2 separate regions of the Homo sapiens genome follow, and region 1 is linked to region 2. The links are contacts of gene promoters, found by promoter capture Hi-C in blood cells and fetal thymus (Javierre and others, 2016). All regions are on one chromosome and are shown on one strand. Each heading gives the region's core, a stretch centred on a gene start or on the middle of the fragment in contact. The rest is flanking DNA. Distances are from core to core; before and after follow the strand shown. Region 1 overlaps KALRN (kalirin RhoGEF kinase). Region 2 holds the start of ITGB5 (integrin subunit beta 5).

Region 1 (6,973 bases), core at 2,454-4,953, 320 kb after region 2:
TTGTTCTTCTTCTTTTTTTTTCCCCCTGAGATAGAGTCTCACTCTTTTGCCCAGGCTGGAGTGCAGTGGCGTGAACACAGCTCACTATAGCCCTGAACCCTCAGGCTCAAGCAATCCTCCCATCTCAGCCTCCTGAATAGCTGGGACTACAGGTGCATGCCACTATGCCCGGCTAATTTTTTTCTTTTTATTTTTTTCACAAAAGAACTTAAAAATATACTGATGTCCAGGTCCTTGGCAGCTGGATTAATTGTTCTGGGGTGGATATGAGGCATCAGTATTTTTAGAAACCTCCTCCAGGTGGTTTCTAAGGTGCATCCAGAGTTGGAAACCACTGCTACAAAGGCTTGCCTCTTGGGAGGTGCTGCCCTCCACCACCTGCTGCTGTGAAAGTGAGAGGGGCCTGTGGAAAGGCAGGACTAGGGCTGGAGGGCCCAATCCCAGTGAGAAGCCCTAAGATGTCAGAGTGGCAGTAAAGTAGCAGGAAAGGCAGCCCCACCCCAATTCTGACACACAGCCCCACTCTTTTTCACCAACCCCATCATGAATGACACCAAGACTTATCAGGAGGAAATAACCAACCACTGCTCCCACAGAAGGCAGAGGAGGGAAGGGCAGAGAGGAGCCCTAGCACTACCCAGAAGCTCAACAGGTGCTGGGAGCCCTGGTCTGCTCCAGCTTGGCCACAGACTCCCTGTGGCTTCAGGGAGGTCACCTTGCTTTCCTGAGCCTGAGTGTTCTCTTGGAAGAGAGGAGACCGGGCTAGTGCAGTGGTTCTCAACCCTGACTGCACCTTAGATTCACCTATGGAACACTTAAAAATACTGACCCTCAGGCCCCATCCAGAGATTCTGATTCCATTTGTTCTAGGTGGGGTCTGGGCATTGTCATTTGGAAAAGCTCCCAGATGATTCTCATGTGCAGCCAGCGTTGGGAACCCTGTGCTAGTGGATCATCAAGAACCATCCTGTGGTTCTTTTGTCCCCATTTCTGGGGTGATAGTCATGGCCTGAGCACTCACAAGGTGCTTAGCCCTCACACATAGTCCCTGCTTCACACAGCCTGCAAGAGTGCTGACTTGGTGCTCTCTGCAAATGCTAAGAGGACCAGTTCTCTTATGGGAATTGAAAAAGGAATTGATTCCAACCTCCTGACACCAGATGAGACCACTCTGTCCTATTCCACAACCCCCAGAGGAACATTTTATTCTCAATCTAGTTGTGCATAACTTATAAGGTAAAGCACCCACTGGAGACAAATTACTGCTGAGAGAAGAAAAGGCGGTTTGCCAAGCAGGCAGCCAGCTGGAATAAGAGAAGGAATAGCTTATTGGGTCTTAGCTAAGGCCAACACTCTGGGCAGACCCCAGAGAGACAGGGAAAGGGTTTTGAGGCTGGGCTATGTGCATAACTGCACACACTTTCAAATGGGGTCTAGTTAAGGGCATAAGGAGTGCTCCATGGAGAATGCAGACTTAGGTCCTTTTTTTTTTTTTTTGAGACAGGGTTTCACTCTGCAACCCAGGCTGGAGCACAGTGGTATGATCATGGCTCACTGCAGCCTCAGCCTCCCAGGGTCAGGTGATCCTCCCACCTCAGCCTCCTGAGTAGCTGGGACTATATAGGTGCACACCACCCCACCTGGCTAATTTTTAAATTTTTTTTGTAGAGACAGGGTTTCGCCATGTTGCCCAGGCTGGTCTCGAACGCCTGAGCCTGAGCAATCCACCTGCTTCAGCCTCCCAAAGTGCTGGGATTACAGGAGTGAGCCACTGCGCCTGGCCGACTTAGGTCCTTGACTGTTGGGAGTCGGGGACCTCTGTATTCAGAGCTCACATGGGTGAGAAGATAGTAAGACCTCACAGGATGCCATTTGAAAGCTCAGCATAATTGGCCTAAGCTTGGGGAAACAGGAACCAACCTGGAAATAAAAAGCCAAAGAAATGGGTGATAGGCACTGCTGGTACCTTTAAGAAGCTATGCTGGTTGGCAGAATTAGCTGGAAAGTTCTATGACAGCCTCCCTCCCAGCTTTGTCTCTTGCCTCTATTTTCCATTCCTGGTCTTCATCTCCTATTTTTAGTTAAATCTCCACTAATCTGTCCTATAGTCGAGACAACCCCCAGTCCTGTGCAATTCTTACCCTGAATGCTTCCACCTCCCACTTCGGGATCACAGATTGACTCTGACACTGCTCTCTGGCTTTCCACCTTGGGTTTGCTCCTGCGAAGTTGCACATGTGGCAGCCCCAGCAGGGAGGGAGTGCACATTTTACCCAGCCTCAGGCTAGGAGGCCAGGTCTAGGTCAGGAAGTCTCATCTTCCCTTGAAGCTGAGTCCCTCCTGATGAAAACGACCCACACCTGGGGATCCAAGGAACGTTAGCCTTTTGCGGCAAATGAATTGCTGTGCTTGATTTTGTCTCTGCAGATGGGTCTCTCAACTGGACTTGTGGGAGTGTGTAGTTATTTTGCTGGATAATCTATGGCAAATGATATAATAGCAAAAACTTATCATGACAACTAAAGTGCATTGAATGCCAGGCACTGCTGTGTTTTGTCTCCATTACCTCATTTTACCCTCACAATCTACCTTCTGTGTACCCTCTTCTCCTCTTGGCTAGACTTCAAGCGGAACCAGATTCCTGAGTTTCCTTGATTTTCCTCTTGTGCCTGCAATTTCAAATTCCCACACAACTTCCTGACACAGTCCCTCCTTAGTCCTCAGAGGACAGGGGGGAAAGCAGGCAATGATTAAATTGGGAGTGGAGGGCACGAGGAGAATTAGGACGTCGGTCTTAGCTGACATTTTTCTCCTGGTGGAAAAAACCCTGGAAGGCTGGATGCAGCACAAACAATTCAGCCTGCTGCTGCCATCTAGTGGAGGAAAGGAAGTCAGGCTTTGGAGGTAGACCAGATGGCACTCCAGACACCGGAGTGTTTTAAATATGTTCTGAGTTCACAGTTAACCATCAGGAAGCCTGCAGCAGGTCTCCATGCTGACCCTCGTCCCCATCTTCCTCTCCTAGAAATATCTAGCACAGGTCTGCATAGAAGGCATGCCTGCTGCTGATTATCTGGCCAGTTACAAAAATAAGCCCAGAACTAAGGCCTGGCTTTGGCTTCCTCAGTGTAAAATGCTTGGCTGCAAGGCCTCTGCCACTTGGACTTCACAAGTCAGTGGATCTCAAACTCAAATGTGCATCAGAGCCACCTGGAAGGCTTGTTAAAATACAGACTGTTGGGACCCACCGGCTCTGGAGGAGTGGGGGTTCTGATCATTTGCGTTTCTTTCTTTTTTAAAATTAAATTTAAAAACACTTTTTGAGGCAGGACCTTGCTCTGTCACCCAGTCTGGAGTGCAGTGGTGCAAGCATGGTTTACTGTAATCTTGTCTTCCCAGGCTCAAATGATCCTCCTGCCCCAGCCCCCCACTGAGTAGCTGGAACTATGGGTGTGTGCCACCATGCCTGGCTAAAATTTTTTAGTTTTGTAGAGATGGGGGTCTCACTATGTTGCCCAGTCTGGTCTCAAACTCCTAGCCTCAAGCCAGCCTCCCAAAGTGTTGGGATTACAGGTGTGAGCCACTGTACCTGGCTTTTAACTTTGATTTTTTATTTTTAGAGGTGCGGTCTTTCTCTGTCAGCCAGGTTGGAGCGCAGCGATGCAATCATAGCTCACTGCAGCCTCAAACTCCTGGGCTCAAGTGATCCTCCTGCCTCACCATGCCCTGAGTAGTTGGAACTACAAGTGAACACCACCTTGCCCAGCTAATTTTTTTTTTTTTTTTTTTTTTTTTTTGAGACGGAGTTTCGCTCTGTCGCCCAGGCTGGAGTGCGGTGGCGCGATCTCGACTCACTGCAAGCTCCGCCTCCCGGGTTCACGCCATTCTCCTGCCTCAGCCTCCCGAGTAGCTGGGACTACAGGCGTGCGCCACCATGCCCGGCTAATTTTTGTATTTTGCCCAGCTAATTTTTTTAATTTTTTTTTTTTTTTTTTTGAGACAGAGTCTCGCTCTGTTGCCCAGGCTGGAGTGCAGTGGCACAATCTTGGCTTGCTGCAGCCTCATGGCAACCTCAGCCTCTCGGGTTCAAGTGATTCTCCTGCCTCAGCCTCCCAAGTAGCTGGGACTACAGGTATGTGCCGCCTTGCATTTTTAAATTTTTGTAGAGACAGGGTCTCACTAAGTTGCCCAGGCTGGCACCTGCATTTCTAACAGGTTCCCAGGGCATGCTGATATTACTAATCCAGAGACCACCCCTAAAGAAACACTGTCATGAGGAGTTTAGTCTCCCTGGCATGAGAAAAAGTGAGTAAACAGGCATGTGAAGGGAACACAGAGCTTACATACAATAAAAGCCAAGGCTAGAATACTTTATCTGTTGAAGGCACATAAAGGAGTCATGGACCTCAAAGCCTGGCTGGGCTGAGGGAAGGATCAGATCTGACTCAGCTGTGGCTCCTCCCTGGGTGTGCCTGGTGTCTCCAGGTCAGCATGTGAGTACTTGGTCGGGGGTCAGAGAGCCAGAAGTTGCTGTGGAGCGGGAGTGGGTCAGTGGAGAAAGGATGAGTCTAAACCATATTTGGCCAAAGGTAGAAGAGGACTTTCCCGAATGTAGTGTGATATGATGGGAAAACTGGAAGAGATCTTGGAGGTTACTTAATTCAACCTTCATTTCCAAGATGAAACTGACTCAGGAAGGCTAAATGACTTTCCCAAAGTCACACACAGTTACTCGGGAGCTCTTCCTCTCCAAGTTCCCAACCCATTCTCTTCACAGTCAGGTCCCAAAGAAACCCCACAGGGTAAAAATGGGTCTGTGAGACAGGTCACTTCCATGGTGGTCTTCAGCTAGAGTCAGGCCAGCGCTCATGGCCTCCTTGGTCTGTGCCTCCCACCCGCTCTGTTCTCCTACCTTTCACCAAGGGGAAGAAGCAGTCCATCTCCACGCTGCTTCGGGAGTGTGAGATGCACAGGGCGCTGCTGGGGACCAGACCCTCCAAGGGCGGGCTCCGTTCGGTGGTACGGACCAGACACCAACCAGGCCGCTCGCTGGGCCGCTCCAGCAGCTCTACCGTCTGCCCCACCTGGATGGTCAGCTCACTGCTGTGGCCCGCACTGAAGTCCTGGAGGACCACTGTCAGCTCACATCCACCAGAGAGCTTTGGAGGGTGGTGGTGGAGGGAGTAGAACAGGAGGGCATGGAGGAAGGGGGGAGAAATATGGGAGAGGGTTGGTGAGAGGGGACGAAGGATGTGTGAGAGCAGAGGTAAGGAGGAAGAGAAGGGGAATAAAGAGGAAAAATGGTGTTTAGGGCAGAGAGATGGCAGAAGATGAAAAGGAGAGTTGAGAACAGGAAAGAAAACAAGAAAAAAATGTAATTAGCACAGTGCTATTCAATCACTCAGGCTTTCTAGCTGTAGCCACAGTCTGAAGCCTGCCCAGAACCAGGGCTTTGATTCTAATTCCTCTTACTTCGTTAGAGCTCATTATTCCTTTGCCAAGCTTCAGCTAATTGTGCCGTTAAACCCCTTCCCTATATGCCCCTTTACTCCTTCCAAGGGTTCTACCCTGTGCCCTGTCCCTGCCCTGACTACCACCCTCAGACTCCTATTGTATGGGCATCTATTCTAACTCACCCCTCCCATTAGATTCTCACTAGATGATAGGGAATAATGGAAGAGACAGCCTTCCTTCCTTCTAACCCCTGCAACACCTCCCATCCCCACCCCTTACTGGAGCCATCAGCCTAAAATCGAGGCTACGAGGACTACAAAAAGAATGGGGCTTCAATTCAAAGGCAGAAGTAAAGCAATGTCTGTCTGGGAGGGGAATAGCCTCAAAGGCTCAGGCACTGGGGACCAGGAGGAAGAATCAGAAGGGAAGACGGGCCACTTCTTACTTAGGAGCATACGCCCAGCCCTCATGCTCCATGCTGGCTTGTCTCCACACTGGCATCTTCCTAATTCACTGATCCTGGGGCAGAAGCAATAAAAGGGGTTGACAGGAACAACCCCTACTGGCTGAATGCTGAGACTTCTCACTTTTTCACCTTGGGGATTTGGCCCCACTTCCCCCCTTTCTTCTGGCTTCATATTTCCATGAGAATCCATTCGGTTATTAGTTTGTCTCATAGAACTAAGTACAGTCTCCCTCTTGGAAGAGCAGCTGCACTTAGAGGCAGAGTGACAGGTAGGGAACGGAAGGAATGAGGAGGCTGAGGCCCAGCTTGGTAGCCTGTTATCCTCTAAAGTTCACCCCAAAAGCAGTTTGGAGGCAAAGTCCTTGCACCACCTCCAGGAATTCGACTTCAGTCTGTGCATCTCTGATTTAAGCCTTCAGGGCCCAAATTTTCTGCACCAGTGGCCATATTAGTGCACTTGTCCAAATATGTTGTGTAGCCATTTCACACACATTCTGGGAAGCTTCTGCCCAGTGGCATACACAGTGAACGCCACAGTGAGTAGATAATTAACAGTCCCACCAGGACCAAAAGCTCAGCATTCAGGACTGTGAGAGATTTACACTAAAGGGACTTCGATATCAGAGGGGGCTTGAAACGGTTAAAATAATGCATCAGACTGATGTTGGCAATATGCATCACCACCAGTTACAGGGCAGGGAGTCTGTGCTAACCACGTCCCCATAGGACTGCCATTGGGATCAGATCAGGAAATCTGCAGGACAGAAGGTAGAAGGTAGAAGGTGGAAGGAGACAGAAGAAAATATTTTTCCATTTAACTCTCCTGGTCCCATTAAATGCAGTCTTCACTCCCCCACTCTCCTGGTGCTATCCTCCTTAAAAACATCACAGAGAGAAGGATTTTGTGGGATGGAAACACCTCAAATCTCTAGAGTACTTTTACAGTTAGCAAAATACCTTTGCATTAATTATCTACTTGGTCCTCACAATAACCAGGTGGTACTATCATCTCCATCTCATACATCAGGAAATTCAAGCTCAGAAATGTCAATA
Region 2 (6,223 bases), core at 306-2,805:
AGTTTACTTCCTCAGGCATTGAGGCACCACCTTGTTAGAGTTTGGGAGGAGGCCAAGAAATAAAGGTTAACATCCAAACTCCTTGAGCTGGGCAGTTAGGACAGTTTTCCACTGGGCCCTCCAAGCCATTCTTCCACCAGGTCCCTGGCCTGCAAAGGTGAGACCCCTTTGTTCTTTCCCCCTTACTGCTTCAGTTTTAGCCAAGCCATGCTGCACTTTTGAACGAGGCATCCTAGCTGTCACTTCCTCCAGCAGTTAACCCCTCTGTCCCTCGGTTCCTCAACTGGATAACAGTAGGGTTGTCGGAGGATGAAATGAGTTAATATGGGTAAAGGACTTAGAACAGTGCCTGGCTGGCAGTGTGCTCTCTGTACTTGGTAGGTATTCTATCGTTATTTTCCCCTACCTGAATGTCGCCTCTTCTCTTGCCTATCAACCACTCCACTCTAAACGCACTTGTAGCGAATCCAAGCCCAAGGCATCCTTTCCTGCACCATCTGAGGAAGACCCCACCCCACTCTTTATTGGCTAGTTCAGATCCAGCTTATATGTAAATGATAAGATGAAAGCCTGAGCATATGTTTTTGAGTCTATCAGTTTGATCATGGAAACTGACAGATTATCAGTAAGGACAACGAAATATAGCGGCATATTGGCCAGTCTCAAATCCTTGAAAGGTGCAAAAGTTAAAAAGTGAAAAGTGGGCCGGGCACGGTGGCTCGCACCTGTAATCTCAGCACTTTAGGAGGCAGACACAGGAGGAATGCTTGAGCCCAGGAGTTCAAGACTAACCTGAGCAACACAGCGAGACCCCCATCTCTACAAAACATGTAAAAATTGTCCGGGTGTGGTGGCGCGCGCCTGTAGTCCCAGTTACTCAGGAGGCTAAGGTGGAGGAACCTTTGAGCCCAGGAGGTCCAGGCTGCAGTGAGCCAAGACTGGGCCAGTGCACTCCAGCCTGAGTGAGAGCAAGACGCTGTCTCAAAAAAAAAAAAAAAAGAAAAGAAAAAGAAATGTAGGTTTTACTTGTGCCTCCACGCCCCACCACGCCCTCCCTTGCTCATCCAGAAGTCGCTTTGCGGTTCCACGCGCGGGCGTCTACGTCCCATCTCAGGCCGCCGGCAGTGAGGCTTTGGGAGGATGAGGCGGTACCGGCACGACCCCCGTACCTGCTCTCCCTCTCGCAGTCTAGCAACCGCCTTTGGCCCAAGTAATCTCGGCTCGCCTAATACAGCGTGCCCCGCCCCTTTCCCGTGGCGACGGGCGGCTAAGCAACGGGAGCGGGCTCTACTCAGTGGTTTCGAGCCCCCCACGCCCCAAGTGAGTCGCAAGCGACTTCCACCTGGGCCCGTAGGGCCTCCGCGTCCCGGGCCGGTCCCCGCACAGGGCGGAGCTGGCCCGGCCCGGAGCTCGCCCCGCCCCGCCTCACCGTAAGCTGACCGTGTGGCGGCCGGGCGAGGGCCTGGCAGGGGAGAGAAGGGGAGGAGAAAGGAGAGGAGGAAAGTGGAGCCTGGCGGGCCGGAGGGAGGAAGGGAAGGGGCGGAGGCCAGGGGCAGAGTGTGCCGGCGCGCGGGGGAGTCTCGGCGCTGGGCGCGTCTCGGAGCCCAAGTCGCGGCCGCCGAGCGGAGCCAGCCCCTCCCCTACCCGGAGCAGCCCGCTGGGGCCGTCCCGAGCGGCGACACACTAGGAGTCCCGGCCGGCCAGCCAGGGCAGCCGCGGTCCCGGGACTCGGCCGTGAGTGCTGCGGGACGGATGGTGGCGGCGGGGCGCGGGCCAGCGCGGGCGCCGTGAGCCGGAGCTGCGCGCGGGGCATGCGGCTGCGGCCCCCGGCCCTCGGCCCCCGCGCTCCGGCCCCAGCCCCGGCCGCCGGCCCCCGCGGAGTGCAGCGACCGCGCCGCCGCTGAGGGAGGCGCCCCACCATGCCGCGGGCCCCGGCGCCGCTGTACGCCTGCCTCCTGGGGCTCTGCGCGCTCCTGCCCCGGCTCGCAGGTAAGCCGCGCCGCCCACGGCGCCCAGAGAAACTTTGTCGCACACTCAGCCGCGGGCGGGCGTCTCGGAGGGGCGGGGAGCGCAGGCGGTGCCTGAGGGCGGAGGGCGCCTTCGGGGCACTCCCTGGTGGGCCAGTCGCTGGGGGACAGCCCCGCGGGGCGCTCCCCGCGCGCAGCCCCGCCGGGCTGTCGTGAGTCTCCTGTTCCCTCCCGGGCTGAGGAGGAGCTTCCCTTCCTGTGTAAACAGGCTGGCCGGCCTGCTGACCTAGCCCGCCAGGGCCCGCGCCCAGGGCACGGGGAGGACCGCCGCCAGCCCTGCCTTGGGGCCCGGGCTCTCCGTTGGCGGGCACAAAGCGGTCCTTGTGGCCGGCCGGGAGCGGGCGGGCTGCTGGGGGGATGCCGTCGGTGCCCTGTTCCCGGAGAAGCAAGGGAGTCTCGAAACCCCAGCCAAAGCCCGGGGCCACCTCCACTCCGGAGGGCTCGCCTCCTGGAACAGCGGGTGCACAGGGCCCACAGCGAATCCTGGAGTTCGCTGCGCCTAGGCTAGCCGCCTGCCTTTGAAGATGCAGCCCCCACCCTCCCCGCCCCCCGCCTGCTTCCTCCTCGCCTAGGCCACCGCAAACCCGAGGGGGCACCCGCGTCCCAAACCACAGCCCCACCTGGGACTTCCCTATTAAATTCCTTCTGCCCGACTTTATCCCGCGATTTGCACACGCTCGGAGCCTCACACTCCCCTAACTGTGGAGGATTCTGGAGCAGAGGACAGGGGCTGTGGAGATTGCCTTAGCCCGACGCTGCGGTGGGCTGGCAGCGTTGCAAGGATCCCTCGGTTACCTGCTCTAACTTTTCAGAGTTGGGAGATGATTGGACGTGGTAGTTTGGAGGCCCTCGAGGAAGGATGCACTTGTTTGGGATGCGGATTTTCTCCTTTCTTTTAGGAAATAATAGTGCTCTATTAACTTTCAAGCCGGAGATACTTGATTGCTCTTGTGAGCCAAGTGGTTGCCTGGCTGCCCGAAGGGAGGACTGTTCCCCCACGGTGTCTCATTTACATGAAGGCAGTGGAGGTTTAGGTTTAAGAGCGGAGGAGGGGTCTGAGCAAACAATAACTTCGTTCAGACCCTAATTCAAACTTAATACTGTAGCAAGGTTTTTGGTTTTTGTTTTAAATGGGAAAATAATCACTCCAGAGCTTGGAGAGTAGATGAGTGGATTCCAAACACCCATCCGGCAGCCAGTGCCCATCACGGATATTTTCATGGGTCCCTAGGGAAAGCGAGGAGCAGGAAGATGTAGCCTGCATCACACAGGAATGTATTGTTGTCAACGCTCCCCTGCTCCACAAGGACTTTCCTTTAGTTTGAAATTAGGCACTTTTTCTTTTTTTGGTGGGAACATTTTCTTTTAATACTTCTTAATAATATTAGTAGTTTTTAATTTTGGCAAAATAAGAAAATCTGACAACCCTATGTTAAGCTCCCCTTCTCTTTTTCTGTTTGTTTCTTTTGTTTTGTTTTTAAATCTTAGTTTTCTTTGAAATCCAAAAGTTCAGAAACTGCCAAAGGAGATGGCTTTTAAGTTCCTTTCCAGCTTGACATTCTGTAATTCTGACAAACAGAATTATAATAATAATTTCTAGTTGCAAATAATTTTTTTTTTTTGAGTCAGAGTTTCAGTCTTGTAGCCCAGGCTGGAGTGCAGTGGTGCCATCTCGGCTCACTGCAACCTCCACCTCCCAGGTTCAAGCAATTCTCCTGGCTTAGCCTCCCAAGTAGCAATGATTACAGGCGCTGCGACCATGCCCGGCTAATTTTTGTATTTTTAGTAGAGATGGGGTTTCACCATGTTGGCTGGGCTGGTCTTGAACTCCTCACTTAAGGTGATCTAACTGCCTTGGCCTCCCAAAGTGCTTCAATTACAGGCATGAGCCACCACGCCTGGCTGCGAATAATTTCTAAAAATACATTATTTTCCACTTGCATCTTGCTTTCTCTTTTTCAGAGTTCACGTACATCTTCACGGTGATGTCCATTTTCTCATATGGGCTCAGGAAGGAAGTGACTTGCCCTTCCCCTCTACTTGGGTCAGGAGTGGTGGACCAGGGACCATGGCTTTTGGTCCAGTGCCCTTTGTCCTACCGACTCAGCTTAAGGAAGAGAAAAGCACTGAGCATGGTGGTTCATTTGCAACTCTTTTGGGGTCCTGTTTTCCCATTGCCTATCTTTTCTTTTCTTTTTTTTTGAGACAGAGTCTCACTCTTGTTGCCCAGGATGGTGTACAGTGGCATGATCTCAGCTCACCACAACCTCTGCCTCTCAGGTTCAAGTGATTGTCCTGCTGAGTAACTGGGATTACAGGCATGTACCACCACGCCTGGCTAATTTTGTATTTTTAGTAGAGACAGGGTTTCACCATGTTGGTCAGGCTGGTCTCTAACTCCCAACCTCAGGTGATCCGCCCGCCTCGGCCTCCCAAAATGCTAGGATTACAGGTGTGAGCCACCACGGCTGGCCTCTGCCCATCTCTTTGACTACAGGTTTTGGTGGTGGTGGTGGTGGAGCAAGCCATGGCACTGGCCTCCAGAACTTGCTGCTTACCTCTTAGGGCCCTGAAGCTTCTCAGGATTAGCAGAGGTTGACTCACATCTGTGTCATTTCTCCTAGTTTTTCAGTGTTGCTGAATTAACTTCAACATTCTTTTTTTTTTTCTTTTTTTTTTTTGCTTCCCTTCCCTTCTTTGTTTTCTTGAAGCACTACAGGTACTTTATTCAGGGAGTGTTTCTGTCTTGCCACTAGGAACATTATTTGAAAGAAAAAAACCTAGTTACTCAGAGAAAAGAAAGAGATGACCCTCAGGGCCATGCCTGCCTGGGTGTTCCTGGACCAGTGGTTGAGTGCCTCTCTCTGTTGCTCTAACCCCACTTTCATCTCAGTACGGATTTCCAGCAGGAAACTGACCTTAGGTTTCAGGGGCTCATTTCAAACAAGTCCCTGGCCGGCTGACAACCCCCTCCCGTCCCCACCAAGGGCTATCTCCTGCTCTTTTTATTATCTTATGGCCAAGAGCCTTCAGACAGAATCCTAGGATGTGGTCTTCCCACAAAACCAGGGGTCTCACTGAGGTGAGGCTTTTCCACGCTGCCTTTGCTAAGACAGAGAGAGGAACACCGTCTTATAAAGAGGATCCTGCAACACCGCTGGAATTATGTGTGCTATCACATTCATTTCTTTTTAAAAAAGCAATCGAATGTTCTTCTAGTGAATGCTCTGCACATCCTAAGAAAGCCCTTTGTTTTATTTAGTGGACTCATGTTGGCAGCACCCTTCCTCTACCCCCAACCCCCTACCACATTTCCTGTGGTCTGTGATGGGGTTGTTGGAATTTGGCTGGGTCTGCAGCTCTCTGTAGGTAACCAGGCACAGGTTTAGAGCTGACAGGACAATGAAATACAAACAGTGGGTTTGGTCTGTAGACTGCTGTTTATCCTATGGATTTACATTTTAACTCCATCATCCTTGAGTTGGGGGAGCTTTTTATAAAGGGGATTGAGGCAGAAGAGGGCAGGGTCTAATTAGCTCTAATTAGTATTCCCCGCCTGCTTGTTCTCCATGCTTATTTAGCTACTGAGGCAACGGGGAATTAAAATATCTAAGTAGTTTGGCAAAAGGCCTTTTGTGCCTGCGTGGCCTGGTAACTACTTTTTCTTATTCAGCCTGGCCATGGAAATATTCTGAGATGCTTTAACGATATCAGTAATGTGGGACAATTACAAACTACTTAAATAATAGGGCCCCTTTCACATGGCAGTGTGCAGCTGGGTTAATGGGATAGGGTCTCTTTTCACAGGTATTTCCAGTTGGCTGGAGCCGAGGGCCTTGGAGAACTGACTGCCGTGGTTTGTTTTCCTTCTTTCCGGTTCGAATGGGATTAATGGCCTCTATAAATGTAAAGGAATGCTTTATTTAGAGGCACCCATTTGTTTCTGAGGCTTCTTGCTTCCGTTGAATGCAGGGTTTACTTCCCGGGCCTCATGGTGAAAAGTTTGCTCTAAGACAGGCTTGACTCATCCCCTAAGGCTGATGCTTTGAAGGCACTGCGGGGTACCCTGCCCTCTCTTTATAGGATTCCCTCCCCAACTCCAGCCAGACATTTTCAGAGCTGGTTGTCTCTTGTAGAGCTGGGACCTACTTCTGCAACTTGTTCTCTTTAGTTATTCTCAACTGTCCCTCAGAGTG

The links. Contacts are between HindIII fragments. The CHiCAGO score rates a contact against its expected background, and 5 or more counts as called.
Region 1: a fragment that was not itself captured here is called in contact with the fragment with the promoter of ITGB5 in region 2 in 1 of 17 cell types (endothelial precursors); the score reaches 5.9 in endothelial precursors.

The regions. Positions count from the first base shown.
Region 1 is chr3:124,561,029-124,568,001 of GRCh38, reverse strand. It overlaps KALRN (kalirin RhoGEF kinase), which reads right to left. Exons shown (of 60, transcript NM_001388419.1): 34 at 4,913-5,159. The region is part of intron 2 of LOC105374076 (a long non-coding RNA gene); the gene reads left to right. Among named protein-coding and RNA genes, the nearest start is that of UMPS, 170 kb to the left of the region's middle. RefSeq lists a silencer at 2,766-3,060 and an enhancer at 2,766-3,060. The HindIII fragment of the contact is 3,603 bases long and covers 1,902-5,504 here.
Region 2 is chr3:124,882,697-124,888,919 of GRCh38, reverse strand. ITGB5 (integrin subunit beta 5) reads left to right here and starts at 1,555. Exons shown (of 15, transcript NM_002213.5): 1 at 1,555-1,989. The coding sequence starts at 1,920. RefSeq lists enhancers at 1-179, 180-1,062, 2,831-3,715 and silencers at 1,177-1,616, 2,077-2,166, 5,224-5,518. The HindIII fragment of the contact is 6,734 bases long and covers 1-4,604 here.